Linked DNA regions of Homo sapiens: region 1 is linked to region 2. Evidence: promoter capture Hi-C in 16 types of primary human blood cells and fetal thymus (Javierre and others, 2016). All regions are on one chromosome and are shown on one strand. Each heading gives the region's core, a stretch centred on a gene start or on the middle of the fragment in contact. The rest is flanking DNA. Distances are from core to core; before and after follow the strand shown. Region 1 overlaps RASGRF2 (Ras protein specific guanine nucleotide releasing factor 2). Region 2 holds the start of RASGRF2 (Ras protein specific guanine nucleotide releasing factor 2).

The links. The method cuts DNA at HindIII sites, captures the fragments that hold promoters and counts their contacts. A CHiCAGO score of 5 or more calls a contact.
Region 1: a fragment that was not itself captured here is called in contact with the fragment with the promoter of RASGRF2 in region 2 in 3 of 17 cell types (non-activated CD4 T cells, activated CD4 T cells and naive CD4 T cells); the score reaches 7.6 in non-activated CD4 T cells.

Annotation. Positions count from the first base shown.
Region 1 is chr5:81,043,267-81,048,301 of GRCh38, forward strand. The region is part of intron 2 of RASGRF2 (Ras protein specific guanine nucleotide releasing factor 2); the gene reads left to right. Among named protein-coding and RNA genes, the nearest start is that of RASGRF2-AS1, 85 kb to the left of the region's middle. The HindIII fragment of the contact is 628 bases long and covers 2,533-3,160 here.
Region 2 is chr5:80,958,328-80,964,156 of GRCh38, forward strand. It overlaps RASGRF2 (Ras protein specific guanine nucleotide releasing factor 2), which reads left to right and starts at 2,036. Exons shown (of 27, transcript NM_006909.3): 1 at 2,036-2,699. The coding sequence starts at 2,412. It overlaps RASGRF2-AS1 (RASGRF2 antisense RNA 1), which reads right to left and starts at 2,580. Exons shown (of 4, transcript NR_105015.1): 1 at 2,454-2,580. RefSeq lists an enhancer at 2,139-2,860. The HindIII fragment of the contact is 16,452 bases long and covers 1-5,829 here.

The sequences.
Region 1 (5,035 bases), core at 1,597-4,096, 86 kb after region 2:
GAATGTATTGAATGTATTGACTCACTCTGTCAACAATCGGCAAGAGGGGCATTATAATTCCCCCTGTCTGCAGATAAGGAAACTGAGGCCTGGAAAGTTAGTTTTCCTGCCTGAGGTCACACAGCTAGTAAGCCACAGAGCTGGGATATGGCCCTAGCCTAGCCTACATTTGTAAACCCTGCTCTGTGCACCTCGGTTATCAAAAGAAGGGGATGACATCCTCTATTTAAAGAAATAGAACACTGTGATTTCGCTTCCCCCTAAGAAACATCAGGAAGGTGGAAATGTGTGTACAGGGTCTTAAACGGGAACTAGAAATCTGAAAGAGATACAAGGCAGGTCCCTCTCTCTTATTTTCCTATTCAATCCCTAAACCTGGTTCAGTTTTGTTTCCCATGGCTCTCAAGCTCTTGCTTTTTGCCTGTCCACTCCCTAATCCAGGCTGTTGCTCCACTACTCCCTGCTCTCTTGTCTTGCTCATCTCTTGGGTATTTTGGGGCAACACTCTAGCTGTGGCATGCTTTCTTTTTCTTCACCTGATGAGCCTTCCCTTCTCCATCTGTCTGTTCCTCCCTCTACCACTCCCGCCCTGAGACATCTCCCTGCAAGTCAGCCCTCACTGGCGCCCTCTTCAAATGGCTGCAGCACTTGCATTGTGTACTGCACGTGGGCGATTTAGCAATTCTGGTTATCATTACTTTTTTAATATAGTGAATGTGTTAGATTTCTGTTTCCTGAGTGGGATTGTATACACCTTGAGAATGAGGAGAGGGATTGGGGCACATTCATGTCTGAGTGAAGCGCATTGCTAATTATGTAGTAGGTGATCAGGAGATTTCTTCAGTTTGATTGTAAGAATGAGGCATTTAGGCTGGGCACAGTGGCTCATGCCTGTAATCCCAGCACTTTGGGAGGCTGAAGTGGGCAGATCACCTGAGGCCAGGAGTTTGAGACCAGCCTGGCCAACATGGTGAAACCCCGTCTCTACTAAAAATATAAAAATTAGCCGGGCATGGTGGCACACGCCTGTAGTCCTAGCTACTTGGGAGGCTGAGGTGGGAGAATTGCTCAGACCTGGGAGTTGGAGGATACAGTGAGCCAAGATCACACCACTGCACTCCAGTCTTGGGGAGAGAGCAAGACTCCATCTAAAAAAAAACCACACACACAATGAGGTATTTATTCTGAGTGAGTTCAGGCTGTTCTTTGAACCCTTGACGCTTTCTCTGAAAGTCTGCCCTCCCCTTCCCTCGTCTCACCTCTATTCTCCCTACCCTCTTCAGCTACTTATATTTACCACCTTCTCTGACAAGCAGTGTGCCAAGTGTTTTATGTACTTATCTTTTTTTATTCTTCACAATAAGCTAATAGGATATTATTATCCCCATTTTACAGAGGAGAAAACAAAAATTTGTGACAGGCATATTGGCCAAGTTCTAACACAAAGTTGTTAAGCTGCAGATCTGGGATTCAAACCCAAGTTGAATTGGGTTTGGACTTCAGAACCTTTAGCTAATGTTCAATATTGTACTTATCTTCGTTATCCTCTTTATCACTACAGTCTTTTCTTGTTCTATTTTTTTTTTCTTTTCCTCATTCAAAGACGAAAGTAGATTAATGTGAGACTAGGGTTGAGAGTAGAAGATGTTATTTGCAAAATATTTCAGTTCCTTTTCTTTCTCTGAGATGCATGGGGCTGGCAACTAAGTGCCACTCTCCATGTGGACCCCAGGAGAGCTTGCCACGAGTCATCATGACCCCGGCACATGGTTCAGCCGTCCTTGCTCTTGGTGCTCTCTGTTTGAGGGTTTTGATCCAGACTTAGGACTAATGCAGAATGACTTGCTGTAGAAAGAAAGTCAGGCCTTCAAAGATGAAAGAAGCATCAAGCTGGCAAGGTAGAGCCCTTGGGTCATTTCCAGACACAATCTTTTCCTTTCTACAATCTCTATTCCTTTCTACCTAGGAGTTAAAATACATAATTTAAAACATGCCTGTTTTCCTATCTTTTTCATTCCAGGAGAGCAGGCACCATCAGTAGCCCAAATGCCTTTGTAGTTGTCAAGCAAATATCTTGGTGAACCAAACACAAATAATGCAAATTGCTTTAAAGATGATTAGATTCCAAGTAAGAAATCTTTTTTTCTGTCCCAGGAATGCATTTTATCATCTACAGGAAACTGAGTCAGTAATTATTTGGTGGTGTTTGACATACAGTCAAAACCAGGGCATGTGTGATGTTGTCAGGAGACAGACTTTAGAAACCACTTAAGTGGTTTAGATGATACAATGGTGAAAATTCTTTTCTTTTTAGATTTGAAGATTTGGTTAATAATTGACTTTTTCCCTTGATGTTTTGACTTTTTGGTCCATTAGGTTTGCTTTTCCCTTGACTTGAGACCTAGGACTGGGTTCTTTGATAATTTCTTTTAATCTGACTGCTTTATACTGTGTTTTTATATTTTCTGTTTTGCATTGAGATATTTCTTAAATTTTTGTTTTCTAAATCAGGGAAGAAAACTTTTTTATCTAAGCTTGATTAAGTTGAGTTTTTGGTTTAAACTTGGATCTGCAAAATTCACCTTGATTTTGTTCATGTATGAACAAAGCCAGAAAGTTAATGAAGCTGATTCAGAGCAAGAATTATCAGCCATTTTTGCTTGGCATTGTAATAAAACACAATTAATTAATTATGGTTGGTTGACTTAACATTTCACCCTCGAAAGACAGTCTGATGGCATTAATTCAGTACTGCTGCCTTTCTAATATAAAAGTTTTAAATACTCAATATTTATGGTTTTATTGATCCTTTTTTAAAAAATCAAAACTTTTGATTAGTTTAGCATGAGATGTTCTTTTCTGAGCTACAAATCCTCCTGTAGATGCCACTTAGATACAAAGACTGCTCAGAACCCCTTCTCTCATTTACTTTTGTTTTCCTGGGATGGCTTTTCAGTACCAGCCTGGGTGTGCTGTCTTTGTGTGCTATGAACATCACATTGTTCTGTTGGCTTTCGTATCTCAGAGCAGAATCTACTTGCCCCACTTTGCCTTCAGAGAATCTTAGGGTCATTTTCTGGGATGTCCCATTGCATGTTTTCTCCTTTAGATCTGGCCCAGAAAAAAAAAATCGTTTTGGAATTAACATTTTTCATTTTGAAGCTTTGACCAGTCCAAGAAGCTCATTTTAATGTTTTGCTTACCATTGGCCAATACTGCATTTCTAGAACACGGGCACATTTAGGATATCATTTTACCACATGTTATGGCACTAGTTCAGGGGACGCTGCTACCGAGACCCAGTCTTGTTTTTGTCTGGTTGAGTTGAGGCCAGAGCCTTTTCATAGTAGTTAAGTCTATGCTTATTTTATGTGGTTGCTACTTGAGTATGGAACTCTGGACATAAAAAATAACCTGATATTTCTTCTTTGTTTTCTTGTCCATAAGTGTCCATCATGGTTGATTTAGTTGTAGACACTAGGACAATCAAAAACTGACCTGGTTGATTGTGAGTCCTTAGGGCTTGTTAGCTGAAAAGACAACTCTTCAATGTTTCATCTGCTAGAACATGGACCAAGCAAAGTATCAGCAGTTAGGAGATAGTCATGGCCTGGACATGGATCCAGTTGTATATCTTCCAAGGGTCTTCCCATCCTTGACTAAGCCTAATACCCACAGGACCTAGACTATGACATTTGGGAAGAAACGAGGAAGGTTCTCCAGAGATGTAGGGGGTAGACTTCAAGGGACTTTGTGACTATCTGGATTTGAGCAGTATTAGACTAGGGTGGCATCTAACACATCTCTCAGGCCCCTAGCTTGGACGGTGTCACTCTTTGGGAGAAGAAATGATGAATGAGGACAGGTTTGTGGGCAAAGATGATGAGCATTGGCCAGGAAATGTTGGGCAATTTCTGCTGGAAATTGGAAGAGTATGATTATCGCTGGGAAAGGAAGGAAACTGTGAGACACTGAATTGATCCCTTGGCGTGTGGGGTATGAGAGAATGAGTATCCAGGGGGCTGATAGAGAAGTAAGGTGTATCCTGAGGAGGGAGGAGAGTTTGGGTTTCTACCAAGGTGGAGGGATTGGGAAAACAGATATTGAGAATGTTGAGCCTAGCACAGAGCACTGTTGAATGTGTGTAGCTTTGCACACCCTGCAGATGGCTTGTGTGTCCTGTGTTTGAAACTGTCCCACTATCTTTTGCCTGCTTTCTGATTTCTTCAGCTGAACCTGCTCAAATCTCCACCTCGATTCTCTTCCCTCCCCTCAGGGTGTATCTTGAGCAGGCAGATCGTAGGTTTTCCTTTAAGGGCAGAGCATACAAAAGGAAAAAAGAATTACAAAAAGGAATATGTTTCCACTCCATAAAGCTCACAGTCAGATGGTGTTTGGCAAGGGCCTGACCTAACCCTTTGTTTCACCCTGTCAGTCTCCAACCTGACGAGCAGAGAGACTTTATCATCCAGTTAAACCTTTCAATTAAGCCTTATTCTCTTTTCCAGTAAAGAAAGCTGTAATGCAGCCTCTTGGATCTGTTTTTAATGTTTAGTCTTTTTGATTACCTGTGTCTGAGACAGCTGTTGTTCATTCTCTCTCTCCCTTAAAATACACACACATGCACACACACACAGTGTGGTAGCTGCACCAAACACCCAGAACCTAATGCTTGTGGTCTCATCCTTGGAAAAAGGCTTAATTTGCAGCAAGGTATATAGTATAAAAATCTGTACAGCACTAAAGGCTGCTGTGTATATCATATCCTCCCCTTAAAATCAGCCCTTTAGAGAATGCACACAGAGAGAAATCCCTCACAAATCAGAGAAGAGTGATGACATAGAAAAGCTGAAAATGTTTCATGTGTCACAGCAACATCACAAGACTAGAAAAATTAGAGATGGACAGTGATGTTATAGCCTAAAGCAATCCAACACCATAGTTTGTATTCTTCCTGTAACAGTAAAACTGTCACTACTTTAAAGATGAAAATGTGGATTTTGTTCATTTAAGGTATTATTATTATTATTTGCTA
Region 2 (5,829 bases), core at 786-3,285:
GAAGGTTTGACTACTCATGGCAAAATAGTTTTTGTGCTGATTTCACACTCTTACTGGTTTCTACTAAAAAAATGGAGCTTATCAACCACACAGGTGTCTACTCACTTACGGTTCTCACAGCTGGGATTGGACCACAGAGAAAGAAATAAAAGGCCTCCTGAGGCAATCACCAGCTCCTCTGCATCTAGAATCTGGCTCCAAAATGTTGCCTGCATTTACTTACTGTCTCTGTACTTGTGTCTTCTCTGAAGAACAATGCAAACTTCCAGCTGGGTTAAACCCAATTTAGCACAGCACTGTCCTTTAGATATTTTTAAAAACGTAAAGAGAAATGACCACTGTTCTCACGCTGTAATTTCAAAATGGCAATTTCCCTACTATATACTTGTTAAAAGTGAAAATTTTTTAAAAAGGTAAAAGGAAAAAAAAACCCCACTCAGCTGCTCAGTGAGGCAGAGTTAAAATATTCTGCAGAAACAGCACTTATGAAACAGGCAGAACCCCTGGGGCTACCAATTCATGAACACACAACTGGCAGTACAAGACAGGTGTATTGTCGTAGACTCATCACCCAGAAAAGCATTATTATTTACTTTTAACAATAAACATTTTATGATGGCACTCCGTTTTAGTGATAAATGACTGGGGAAAATAAAAAATGTGTATAGCAGAATCAAATATAGGCCCTCCCCGGGGGTTTCACTGGCTTTCTCTCACAGCTGCTGGCTACATTATTTCTTTTCCACTTACATTTTTACAGCATGGGGTTGGGGCGGGGGGGTGGCTCTTGGTTTTCTGGTTGTACCTGTCAGATTTGTTAATCAAATGAATCCAGTCCTACAAACGATGAGCCTGTGACAGCTGGCCTTTGGGGTTGGATTCTGCCCTGGGCAGCAAAGTGTCCCTTATTTGGGTATTTTTTTCCAGGTTGAAAACTCGGCACTTAAAATTTAGCATCTTACCACTGTGAAATAACAGGCATTCCGAAAGAACTTCGGCATCTGATGCCTTTCCGGGAACACTTGGGCCACTCTCCTTAACCTTTACCGGCAGTTTTAAATACTACAATGCAGGTACAAGCAGAAAAGCCAAGGATGCGGGCTATGCAAAGCCACTCTGTGACTCTACCTACTGCCATGGGAACGTACTTATGGATGTGGCATGTGAGTGTGTGTGTATGTGTGAGTGGGTTTGTGAAAGTGTGTGGATTCGTGCGAATACGTGTGTGAGTGCTTTGTGTGTATTTTTGGATGAATTTGTGAATGTACATGTGTGTTCATCTGTGTGTGTGTTTGATTATCTGCTTATGAGTCTGTATGATTGTGAACGTGTGAGTATATGTGTGCTGTTTGTGTGACTGTATGAGTGTAATGTGTGTATGAATGTATGTTTGAATGTGGGTTTGAGTGAATGTGTGGGTTGTGTGTGAATGTGTGTGTAAGTGAGCATATCACTGCGTGCATGTGTGTAGCTCCTTAAGTGTGTATCTGAATGTGGGTTTTATTTTTGTGCGCGGGAACGCACATTGTGGGTGTATTTGTCTATATGCATTTGTGCGTTGTGACTGTGTGTTGAGTGTGAGCGTTGTGAGAATGTGTATTTGTGTGTCATGAGTGTGTGCGCGTGTGTTTTTGTGCATATGTGCGCGCATTGTGTTTGTGTGCATTTGTGAGTGTATTTTTGTGCGTCTGAGTGTGTGCATTGTGGATCTGGGTGAATGTACTGGTCTGCGTGTGTGTGGGTGTGCGTGTGTGTGTGCGCGCGTTGTGCGCGAGTGTGCGAGCGCGTGTGAGCGGGTGTGTGGTGCGGCCGGGCGCCTCCACCTCCCTGATCCGCCCCATCCCGGCGGGCGCCCGAGCAGAGGCAGCGGCCCGGGCCGGGGCGGGCGAGGGAGGGACGCGAGCCGGGGCAAGCGGGCTGCGCCACCGCCGGCGCCGCGCCGACTTTGCCCTTTAAATCGGTCTCCAAGCCGATTACAGCTGAGCTCCCACGTGACGTTTTACCTTCTGTCTCCCGGAGCGCGTTGCCCGAGGACAGTCCTTCCCCGGCTGCCGCCCCAGCCCGCCGCGGGGGCTCGGCTCCCGCAACTTTGGGCGAAGCGGCGGCCGGCTCGGGCGCCCTCGCGGGGCCGCGCTCCACGCGGGCGTTGGGGGCTTGGGGGGCTCCGGGGGCTCGGCCGGGAGGGTGGTGGTTAGGGCGGAGAGCGTGCCTCGGCCCCAGCCCGCGCCCCTGCCACCGCGCGCCGCGGCCTCCCGAAAGCGGGCGGGGTGCCCTGCGCGCGGCGTGGGGAAAGGGGGCGCCCTTCGCCGGCCGGGACCTGAGCGGTCGCGCCCTCGAGGGAGCCAGCTGGGCCATGGCCGCGAGGCAGGGGTGAGACCGGCGGCCACCCGTGAGCCCTCCGCACCCGCACCATGCAGAAGAGCGTGCGCTACAACGAGGGGCACGCCCTGTACCTGGCCTTTCTGGCGCGCAAGGAGGGCACCAAGCGCGGCTTCCTGAGTAAGAAGACGGCCGAGGCGAGCCGCTGGCACGAGAAGTGGTTCGCCCTCTACCAGAATGTGCTCTTCTACTTCGAGGGCGAGCAGAGCTGCCGCCCGGCGGGCATGTACCTCCTGGAGGGCTGCAGCTGCGAACGAACGCCCGCGCCACCCAGGGCCGGCGCCGGGCAGGGAGGCGTCCGAGACGCGCTGGACAAGCAGGTACCGCGCGCCTTCTCTCCGCGGTCTCCCAGCCTTGATCGCCGCACTCCCTTGCCGTCCTAATCCGGGGATCAGGGGTCGGGGGTCGTGAAAGAGTGCGGGGACTATGCTCCGAAATCCCCCCGCGTCACCAGTGGCGGGACATCTCCACGCTCCTTCCGATCTTCATCCAGGGATTCTCCCATCTCCATACCCCTCCACCCCACTGCCAAGTGATCAGTCAGAATAGTGGCCCGACTTGCTTTCATTACCCTGGTAGAGGTCGAGTCGTTTCAGCTTCTCTGCCAACCATCTATTGCTTCTCTAGACCTGGCTCGCCAGATTTTTGTCTGGTGACATGTATTGACACCTGTTGGGTGTAGATTGGCAAGACGGAACTAACTTATTTGGAAAAGTTTGATTTCTGCCATACCCGGCTGGCGCGTGTAGATTTCTTTGCCTGCAGATGTTTGACCACTGGTTGGGCTGGGAACAAGCGGGGCTCCCAAGCCGGACAGACACTTTCTGTTGGTCATTTTCAATCAGTCTTTGTGATTTCGGTCAGTTGGCCTTGCTAACATTTGACCTGCTGGGTGTAATTATGAAGGTAAATGTGTATTCATATTCCTCAGGATTAATATTTGGTAGCCACATTCTTGCTATGTTTAAAAATGTGGGCATTTTTAAAGAACGCTTCTGTACTTTTAAATGAATGCTTTGAAAATGAATGCGACCTTTTAATTCTGGGTCATAATTTTATTAGTTTTGCTGTGTGCTCATGGTCGCGGGGTGGGGGAGAAAAACCCTTTAAGTCTTAGTGATCCCAGCCCCTCATTCCTGCAAACACAAAGTTTGTATGTTTCCAATCACCGTTTGGTTATTAAAGTTAAAGCAGACTAATTTTATGCCCCTAATGTTCTCATTTAGCTTCTCAATCCCCACCTTGATATGAAAAAGGCTGATTGTTTTTGCTGTTGCGTAAAAATATTCGCAGCTGAATTTTCCATGTGAGTTCAGATCAGACAGCATCTACCGCACACCACAGAGGCTGTGGGAGGTGCTAGCAATGGAGTGATCCGTAAGATGCCTACCTAACCCTTTGGGGCTCATAAAACAATGTGTAAAATTAAGAGGAGTTAAAACTAGACCGACCGGAAGTTTGAGTTGTTTTCACTATAAATCATTAACAGACTTAAGTGATTAAACTTGTTATAACACTTATAAATCTGAAAGTTTAAATATGCTCTTTAGTTTCTGAGGGCTTGTTCAGAGTCATTTGAAAAACTGATTTCCAACTTTATAGATATAGATACTAGAAATATAAACATAAATTTCAAGTCATGCATTTTAGAATTTAAATTGGGAGAAGAGTTTTGAGGAAACATTTTTTTTCAGGAATATATATAAGTAACATTCTATTGGTGGGATTTTTTTTAAGGTATGTGTTCCAAGGCCCCGCAGGAACCAAAATGAATAGGTTTCTAAATGTTATTATGTCTAAAGTAGAATAGGGTATTTTAAATTACTCAGGATATATATCATTTACTTAATCTCAAATTATTTGTTTTCTTCATATTTATATTAATATAAGATAACCACTTTTGATTTTTTTTTTTTCAGTTAGGGGTGGGGAGTTGTTACCTGTTACAATTCATATGGCTCTCTGACTTGCTAATGTTATATGGAAACCAACATTTTTCTACTTGGAAAATATCTGGACTGTAATCTTCAAGACTGTTTTCTTTCTTGCACTTTAATAAGGAAACATAACTTCCAAATAGTTTGACTTTCATGCCACTTTCTAATGGTTGTCCTAAATAGGCCATCTAATGAAAAAATTGTTTTCCCTTTTTATGACCATGCAAATGATGAGTATTTCTCAGTCATTTTATTCATCTTCAAGAGGTTAGAAATTAGAATCTTTGGTGTTTGTAGATAAATCTGAGATGTAGAGAAGCAAGCATTCCAGAATGGATTAGGAGTTGGGCTGGGAAACCTTCCACATTTTGTCTTGCATTAGATGTGCTGCTGTGAGTTGGGTTAGCTTAGCCCACTGATGCTTTTCTCTGGCACTGCCAACTGGGTGTGTTTGAATAATTAAGAAGAAACTGTGAAAATAAGAAACAAGGAGAAACATTCTACCTTAAATCTACAGTTTATCCAGTTGGTTACCTCTCAGCTAATTTATGTTGCTGAGGTGCTTAGATCATCCAGACACTGAGACACGAAGGATCTGTGGAGGATGTGAGGAGATGAGCACATCCCAAGGTTTGCTTCTTTCTCCTTATATGCTTCTGGAGCTTTCCATATCAATATCTCCCTCAACACTATCAACACAGTTGAAGGTTAGGGCTTGAAACAGGACTTAGTGAGGCAGAGTCATTTTTCTTCACCAAGTTTCCGTGTTATTTCTTTAAGCACATCTCTTAATCTTTTCTCTTTTTTTCTGTTAATGAAATCTCTGTTTCCTAATATGTAAAAATTAAGAATTTGGCTAAGTTGGTTTCCAATTACCTTTCAATAATGGCATCTTCTATTTCTAAGGTTATGACAGACAGGGTGAGCTTTTTGCAGTGTGGAGAATGTGAAAGACCATTTCACAAGATTCAGAGATTACCAGTGTTTGTAATAAATACTGCATCTGAAAAGCCGAGGACAAGCAGGTGATTGAAGTGGACATTCTGATAAATTAGTTAGGTCAGCAGATGTGCAAACCTATAGTAACATCATTGCCTGAGGCAGAGACATTCTTATTACTCACATTGGAGGGCGACATATTTATTGTAATCCCCTTGACAGTTACAATAGTTGATGTAATTATTGCTATAAACTGCCTCTAAGCATTCTTGGGAGCTTAAAGTCCACATATCCTTCAATGATTTTTATGCTTATTAGTTGTGTTTTTAGGTAAGTTACAAGAAGAAAACACCCATTGGTTTGCTTCCTGTAAATAACAATTCAAAATAAGTTGGTTGACAACAACAAAAAAATCCGTTTTTTTTTTTTTTTTACACTTGGACTTAAATTGTTTCCAGTTAAGCAGAAAAAAGAAAGTCACTTTCCAAATATGCTTAGATTGTAGGAATATTTGCATTGCTCTATTTTTTTCATAGTGTTCTCAGATTTCACTTTGATGAGTCTTTGGAGGATT